3 separate regions of the Homo sapiens genome follow, and regions 1 and 3 are each linked to region 2. Evidence: promoter capture Hi-C in 16 types of primary human blood cells and fetal thymus (Javierre and others, 2016). All regions are on one chromosome and are shown on one strand. The core of a region is centred on a gene start or on the middle of the fragment in contact, and the rest is flanking DNA. Distances in the headings are between cores, read along the strand shown. Region 1 overlaps PHKA2 (phosphorylase kinase regulatory subunit alpha 2). Region 2 holds the start of CDKL5 (cyclin dependent kinase like 5). Region 3 has its middle 14 kb from the start of PHKA2-AS1.

The links. Contacts are between HindIII fragments. The CHiCAGO score rates a contact against its expected background, and 5 or more counts as called.
Region 1: a fragment that was not itself captured here is called in contact with the fragment with the promoter of CDKL5 in region 2 in 1 of 17 cell types (non-activated CD4 T cells); the score reaches 5.3 in non-activated CD4 T cells.
Region 3: a fragment that was not itself captured here is called in contact with the fragment with the promoter of CDKL5 in region 2 in 1 of 17 cell types (total B cells); the score reaches 5.3 in total B cells.

Annotation. Positions count from the first base shown.
Region 1 is chrX:18,924,585-18,927,284 of GRCh38, forward strand. It overlaps PHKA2 (phosphorylase kinase regulatory subunit alpha 2), which reads right to left. Exons shown (of 33, transcript NM_000292.3): 14 at 1,869-2,003; 15 at 1,084-1,193. Among named protein-coding and RNA genes, the nearest start is that of PHKA2-AS1, 36 kb to the left of the region's middle. The HindIII fragment of the contact is 847 bases long and covers 1,024-1,870 here.
Region 2 is chrX:18,424,317-18,427,016 of GRCh38, forward strand. It overlaps CDKL5 (cyclin dependent kinase like 5), which reads left to right and starts at 1,292. Exons shown (of 18, transcript NM_001323289.2): 1 at 1,292-1,379. RefSeq lists an enhancer at 913-1,207 and a silencer at 1,543-1,612. The HindIII fragment of the contact is 7,790 bases long and covers 1-2,700 here.
Region 3 is chrX:18,875,118-18,877,901 of GRCh38, forward strand. No RefSeq gene overlaps it. Among named protein-coding and RNA genes, the nearest start is that of PHKA2-AS1, 14 kb to the right of the region's middle. The HindIII fragment of the contact is 2,083 bases long and covers 347-2,429 here.

The sequences.
Region 1 (2,700 bases), core at 197-2,696, 500 kb after region 2:
GACAACTCAGGTCAGCACTAATCCTGGGGTTTTATTGCCAGGCAAGAGGCTCAGTACTCGTTTCAATCCACCCAGTCATGGGGCTGCCCTGCTCAAGATCAGACAAATCAGTCTGCTGCCTGCCCGGGAGCTGTCGCTGTAGGGTGGAAGGGAAAGGTGCACTGCTAGATTTATTTCCAGCTCCTCAGATGGGGATTTAAGCATCTTGCCCAACACTGCTGTCTCTGAAAGCAAATCAATAACTCCTTAATTCCTGATCCTTCCAGGGCTATGGGTTCGAAGATGCTTTCCAAGTGGGGGCACTGTGAGCAGGTGGGAGGTGGACACTCTGTTTACCTGATTGATGGCTTTGGTTAATGTCAACTAAAGACACTGCTGCCTGATGTTGAGAACAAATCAAACTGTTCTCTTGGCCTCTGGACTAGTGCATGCTCAGCTCTGGACTGAAATTTGCTACTAAGGGAAATAGCTCACAAGCTTTCTGTGAGCAGCAGGGGCTAGGATGAAACAGCAGCTTGACCCAAGACCCCATGACCAACCCTGTGCCCAGGTAAGCAGGGATTGTGCCCTGCACTGCCAAAGCGATCCCACTGTTGGTCTTTCTAGCTGCCCAAATGGGTGAAAAATATTTTCTATGTACTTCCACAGGACTAGTTTTCTTTGGAAACCAAAGCTCTCCAGTAAGTTCCATGAGTACATTCAGTATCCCAGTAAGCGAGGGTGTGGCCAGAAAATCAGCCTGGCTGTGTGTTACACAGAGGGTCTGATGACAGCTTGCACAAGGGTCAGAGATGATTGTGATTAGGGGCACAAGGGCTGTGAGTCAAGTGACATGTCAACAGCAAACTTCTAAAGCAGTCTGAATTTCACTAATATTCATGACTGGAAGTGATGGCACGCCTGTCTCAAAAAGCATTTACCGAGCACCTACTACGGGCAGACTTGTACTAGGCTCTTGGTATCATTTCATATGTCTCTATTTGAACCTATGCATGCAGAATTCTGTCATATTCACAGGAGAAAAGCTTACCAGACAGCAAAGAGAACTTAAAAAAAAGATGCTCGTTGGCCTGCTCTCCTCACCTGGGGTGTAAAAGTAAAGATTTGGTTCCTAATCACATATAGTTTAGAGGTTCCAAGGACACCAATATGTCGATACGGTCGCCCACTCAAATTCATATTCTTATTCCGTCCTGTTTGAGAAGTAAAAGATAAATTGGAGTTAGAGGAAATACGGTTAACAAGTAATCCAGGCAACTCAGGCTAAGACTGAGCTTATTTCTAGATTAGACAACCCATTTTGGGGCTTGGTTCTTCTACTGCCATCATCCTTTAAAATGGCACGAAGCTGAATATTAAAACAAATCCCGCCCCCTTCTTTTCATGAATGTATATGAACAGTACCCAGTTGGAACTGCATGGAATAAAACTACTAAAAGGACTATAGAACATTTACTTTCGATTTACTTAGTATTGAACCATAATAGTAAACAAAGTCAGATTGTAGAAAAAGCATAGAGAACCTCCTCCCATTTTAATGTGTAAATGAGCATTTTCTGATACTAAAGGTAAACATGAGAAGCATTATCAAGACACAAATGACTTTTCCAATTGTAAATTTTTCAAGGTGGCTCCTTATTTTACAACAGATCCGGCGAATGCTTGGCCACCTGTGACGGTGCCCACTGAACGGGTGTGAGAACGTGCTGGTTTGCCCGTTCCTCTTCACATCGAAGCGGTGGAACCGCCTGCTTTAGTTTTTGTCCAAGTCTTTAGAACTTACGTATATCACAGTCTCCCTCAGACCCCAAATCTAGAACCGAGATGCCCCCATGCCAAAAAGGCCCAGGTAATTTCCCCAAACCTACCAAGCTTGGCATATATGTGACTAAGAATCCGGCCCGGCTGGACTTGAATTGGATGAATGTCCGCGATACTCTGGACGTTCACCCCGTGTTTCCTCAATAAGTCCTTAATGTGATTGTTTTCTGCCAAAACAGTAACTGTGAACAAGAACACAGAATGAGCGTTAGCTCATGACTCTTGTCTCTTCACATGGACACGTGTTCCTTACTGCCCTCTTCTGCCTGGTGACATACACATCAGCATGCTCTTCCATGCAATGACTGGCTTTGGAAATGACAGTGTTCGTCCTGCTGCTCCTCCCCATTCTGTCCTTGCCACCCCTCAACAACCTCAACGCCTATTTATCAAGTGCCTTCATTGTGCAAGATAGTCTGATAGGAGACTTCTAGAAATTGTCCTCAATAAGTCCCAAGCCAAACTGCCCCGTCTCAAGTAATGTCTTGCCTCCCTCTGGGTCTGCATCTATTCTAAACCTGCCTGGTGTCCCTTTTTATGCAGGGTCAGGAGTGGAAACAGCTCCACTTGGGGGATGCCAGAAGCCTGTGCCCCTGCTCCCAAAGGACGGGGGAAAGAAGAGTAAGATGGGGGCGCCTGCTGGCAGGGGATGTTCTGAGGGGACATCCTTCCCTCTAGAGAAAGCAAAGTAGGTCTGTGAGTGGGGATGCTGGCGGTAGTGGAGCAGCCTGGCCCATTCAGAACCCCCGCACAGGGCCCCACCGGTGGGGAAAAAGCACCCCAGGGCTGGCCTGGGCCCCATCTCTGGTGGGAGAGGCTGGGCACCTGGCTCTCCAGCAGGCGGGGAGCTGATTGTGCCTGGGACCTGGGGGCCCATGG
Region 2 (2,700 bases), core at 42-2,541:
ATTAAGTGGATTTTATCCCAAATATCTATTTCCTATTACAGTACTGCATCTTTCTAATTTGGTGGCAGCTATGACCTCATACACTGCCTATTTTCCGTGCTTTTCCTAACCAGAAGAGACCCTATTTTTCTCCTTTGCTTGTTAAAGCGAAAATAATTATGCAGCTTTCCATAGATTTGTCCCCAATGTCTTTTTAAAAAAATTTTTTTTCTTTATTTTCTAAAAGTAGCATTGGAAATGTTATCTCCTTCAATTTCATCACCTCTTCATCCTCCTTGGAAACCCGATCCATGGTGGGTATTAAGATCTTTACATTTGTACTGGTTGGGCGATGACTTCATTGCTTTCAAGCCAGCTGGGGGATCTTGTGTGGCAGAGCATCGGACCGAAGCGGAGGTGTGGGTCGTTGCTGCTGCTGCTGCTGCTACTGCTGCAACAGCTCTTTGCACGCGCCCAGCTGCTGTGTAAGGAATCCTCAGGCTGCTAGGTCTTTGCGCCTAACTCACCCAAGGGACCGCAAGCTGCTGGATGAGTGTACGTGTGAGTGTGTGTTGTGTGTGTGCATATGTGCGTGTGTGTGTGCACACGCAGCGGCAACAGTTGGGCAGCAGCAGCAATGGACTTCGATATCATTTTTACCAACAACAGAGATAAACCATCCTCCATCCTGTATTTCTCAGCTCCCGCCCCGAGTATGTTCTCCCCCTCTTCTCCGACTTCCCCCACCCCAGCCCCCGGCACGGGTCCCTCCGGAGGGAGGGCAGGGTAGCTGCGCTGCAGGCAGGATTCCCTCTTTTTTCCGCAGTGACAGGCGGATTCCGGGGCCTCCTCGCCACCTCCTACCCCCGCAGCCACCCCTTTCTCAGTCACGATCTCCCCACCCCACCACCGTCGACCCTCTCCCTGCTTCCCCGCTCTACCCCCCGGCGTCGACTCCAGGCTCGGGCCCCGCCCCTCTCAGCCTCTCCAGCCCAGGTTGCTAGGGCTTGGCGGGGCAACCAAACCTGGCGTGCCAGGAGGCGCGGCGCGCGCGTGAGCGCGCAGGCGAGCTTGTATAAGGAACCAGCGTTCTTCGGCTTCGGAGACTCGAGCACGAGCGGCGCGAGCCCGAACCCCAGGACAAGCGCTTCCTCCTCATTGGCTCCTACCAGAAGGGGGCGGGGTAAAGGCGGGATCGGGCAAAACCTGAGGTGCTTTCCCATTGGTCCGAACGGGCCGGCTGGGGCGGGGCAGTTAGCAAAATAGGCTGCGCGTTCGCTTCTGCTAGAGGGCGGGGCCGGAGGTTTCGATTAGTTGTCTCTGCCGCTGGGGAAGGTAAAGCGGCGACGGCGTCCTCAGGAGCTGTGGGGTCCCCTGCTAGAAGTGGGGGACTCGGCGGGGTGAGTAGTCGCGCCGCCACCCGCCCGCCAAGCCTTCTTACCCTTACATCGGCCCCGCGTCCACCCAGCTTCTCCTGAGAGTGGAGACCCACCCAGTCCCCCCGGGCGGACAAGAGAAGGGGCGGGGGCGCCGGTTCCCCCGGAACGGGGCGACGCGGTGAGGACGTCCCAGCCCGGAGTAGCCCCTCCTCAGCGCTCCCCTGCGCCTCTGGAAGGGCTTCCCCCGAGGGGCTGGGGCTGTCTTTTGGGGTGTGGGGAGGCGAAAGGGTGTGAAAGAGGGGCGGCGGGTCGAGCCCGCCCCGCGGGGTTCCCCTCAGCGGCGGGTCTGCGGCGTCCCCGCCCCGCCGCTCCCGCGGCACGAGCTCCCCGGGGCTTGCGGCGAGGTAAGCCCCTTCCCGCCGGCGCCGAGGAGGGGCCTGCGCGCCCCAGCCCCCTGCCCGAGTTCGGAGGGAGCCCGAGACTCGCCAGGGGCCGTCAGTCGCGGCCCGGGCCCTTCTGACCTTGGCTGCCCGCGAGGGTGGGCTAGCGACCGGGCGCCGGCCCCGCGGCTCCGCAACCTCCCCCGGACAAGTTTCAGGCGATGCTGTGAAGTTCACGACTGGCATAGTGCGGGGAAGAAGAATGGCCCCTTCTCAGACCTTCATACCTTTTGGACCCTCATAGAAATCGGATTCTGGGATTTGGAACCGTCTCCCAGAACGAACAGGTCCTCCTTGCATTGACACGTTTTGTGCCCACGTTGGGGAAAAAAATAACCTGAACATATTTCAGTGTAAAGGCAGATCTTCCTTGAGGGTTTTGTTTTTCGCTTCATTTGAGTGTTAAAGAACAGATGCCTGAATAAGAAAAGCCTGACCTTAGTATCTCTACAGTGAGATTAGACGGGTGCTGTGATATTTAAGTAGTTGCAGATCAGTATTCTGTTAGCACAATCTATTTTAATTGGCTGGAATTTAAGCTGATTTTAGAAAGTATTGTTGACACCGAATGATTTCTTTCTGTGCATCTGAATTAGGTTTGTTTGAACGTAATGGTTATATAGTTAATGTAAAAGATTACACAAATTAATTTGTCTGAGAGCGTTTGTCAGAAACAGGAGACAGAGATGTGTATAGAACAGGATTATCGTTTTAGGTAACATCTGCTGGAACATTTCCAGCTTGTTTCTTTCTTGCTGTAGGGTTACAAAAAAGACATCTTCACCGAGGCTATTCGGAATTACATGTGAGTGACACTTAGATGTAAATTTGTTTTTATTTCCTTCAAGTGTTTTAAAATGTTTTGTTCACAAAATGTGAAGAGGCTATATTTACTTGTTCCT
Region 3 (2,784 bases), core at 138-2,637, 450 kb after region 2:
GACCCCCTTTCCTGGTGCATTGCCCTGGACTGATGGGAGGTGCTTGCCTAAGAGCTTGTGTCCCATCCGCGTCCCCCCCAACTGCCCCCATTGCCACCCGCGGGCAGCCAGCAGTCACTGGCTAACTGATGGCAGAGGCTGCTTTTATCTTGCAGTGCTCACTCCAGAGCCCCCTGTGGCGTCGGGCTGGCTGGGTTCCACCTGATGCCACACCCTGCTCAGCTCCTTCCCCTGTCACTCTTGCTTCCTTCCAGGCTGCTCCCTGGAGCACACTCTTGGCATTTCACTTGTACAACATGCCTGGCCCTGGCACGCTGCTGGTGCTGGTGTGCACACTGATCACATAAGCTTGTGAGCATTCAGCGCTGAAGGCCAAGGATGCCTTGTGCTCTGAGAATGGGATCTGCTTGGGGGCAGGAGAGACTTGGGGTCGGGGTGCGTTGCTGGGGAACAGACAAGGGATCTGTCGCCTCCTGGGAAGCTGGGAAATGGTGTGGGGTGGGGCGACTGGGAGAGGACGGCCAGGGACAGCTTCAGGCCTGGTGTCCTGCAAAACCTGACACCTAGCAGATGGGAAGATGCGGCTCAGCTACCTCCTCCCGGAGCCAGGCTGAGGAGGTCACGTGGGCCCAGGAGGTTCAGCCTCAGTTGGGCTGTGCTTGGGGAAATAAATCATCAGGACTCAATGCAGAAAAATGACATGAATTAGGGGGCTCGTCTGGGTGCCACGCGAACCTCTCCCTGTCTCTCCACCTTGCAGGCATGCTTTTGGGTACCGACACATGTTCCTCCAGGAGGAGTGGTGGAAAGGAGGAATCCTTTGGCCTCCAACCCTGGAAGAAGGTGTATAGTTTTAAAGGGCAAGGCTTGGCTTTGAATTGCAGCTCTGCCACTTCTTTCTCCTTCTCTCCCTTCCCTTCCCTTTTCCTTCTCTTCCCTTTTCCTTCCCTTTCCCTTTCCCGACAGTCTTCTCTGTTGGCCAGGCTGGAGTGCAGTGATGCACTCTCTGCTCATTGCAATCTCCACCTCCCCGAGTTCAAGAGATTCTCCTGCCTCAGCCTCCTGAGTAGCTGGGACTACAGGCACGTGCCATCATGCCCACTTAATTTTTGTGTTTTTAGTAGAGATGGGGTTTTACTATGTTGGCCAGGCTGGTCTCGAACTCCTGACCTCAAGTGATCTGCCTGCCTCGGCCTCCCAAAGTGCTGGGTTTACAGGTGTGAGCTACTGCACCCGGCCCCATCTCTGCCACTTCTATACAGGCGCTAGAATCCAGACCAGCTTCTGAATATCTCTAAGCCTCAGTTTCCCTGTCCACAGAAGGGGGTGATATGCCTTCTCTCAGAGAGGTGGCGTGAGGAACAAATGGCATGTGAGGGATGAGTGTGCCTAGGATATGGGGAATGGATGTTCTGCTTGTTTTCTTTGCCCTAGAAGTCACTGTATTTCAACCTGAATTTCCAAAGAACATTGTCAGACACCTAAAGAGAAGATCACTTGAAGGAAGTTGAATTTTGATATTTGAAGTTTAACTGTTTTGCCACTCACAGTACAGTTACTTTTGTTTTTTTTTTTTTTTAAAGACAGAGTCTTGCCATGTTGCCCAGACTGGTCTCAAACTCCTGGGTTCACACCATCCTCTTGCCTCAGCCTCCTGAGCAGCTGGGACTAAGGGTGCGTGCCACCACACCCAACTAATTCTTAAATTTTTGGTAGAGATGAGGTCTCACTATGTTGCTCAAGCTGGTCTCAAACTCCTGGGCTCACGTGATCTTCCTGCCTCAGCTTCCCAGATTGCTGGGATTGCAGGCATGAGCCACGGTGCCAGGTCAATTGCTTACATTTTAATGGCCAAAGGGAAGAAGTTGTTCTCTAACTTCTGAAAGTGTTCGGAAAAACTGCAGAGCTTAAATGACTGCTGAGAGATTTGGGATTCTGAACAGACACTGCGAGGAGCCAGAGTTTGGGGGTTGGTGACCTGGACACAGCTGCCGCCACTTTCTGATGGAGAGAGGGTCCTCTGAGTGGAGCTAGTGGCAGAGGTTGTAGAGCCCAGCACCACTAGGAGGGATGGGAGGTCCCTGAGGAGGGAGAACAGGCAGGGTCCCACTTGGAAGTACCGCAATGGCTGTGTCTTCCTTGGTCCTTCCAGGGCGTTGCTGCTTGTGATTCTTTGCTTTCCCAGGGTCCATGTGGGAGGAAACAGCTCACAGGTCATCAATGAGACATCGGAGAGAGCCGCTAGGTGTTGTGGCAGATGAGGCAGTGCCTCCACGTGTGCTCATGGGCACTCCCGGTCATGAAGAGTGACCCACCTTGGCAAGGCTCTGGAGCTTGGTGGCCTTTGACATCCCGACCCAGAGCCTATTCAGGATCCCAGTGTCTCCTTGGATTTGGAGACACTCATTCATTCCCAGCAATGAACACCAAGCTTTTCTCATTCCTTTGGCTTGTACAGTACAGACCCCTCAGCAACTGCGCTCCATGCACGCAGCACTGTGTGGACTTGTTCCCCTGGTAACCACCTTCTATTCCCTATTACTGTGAGCTGGACTTTAGATTCCACATAGAAGAAGGATCACGTGATATTTGTCTGTGTCTGGCTTATTTCACTTAGCATAATGCCCTCCAGGTGCATTCGTGTGGAGGCAGGACTTCCTCCTCCATTTTTTTTTTTTTTTTTAAGGCAGAGTCTCGCTCGGTCACCTAGGCTGGAGTGCAGTGGTGCAATTTTGGCTCACTACAACCTCCATCTCCGGGGTTCAAGGGCTTTTCCTGCCTCAG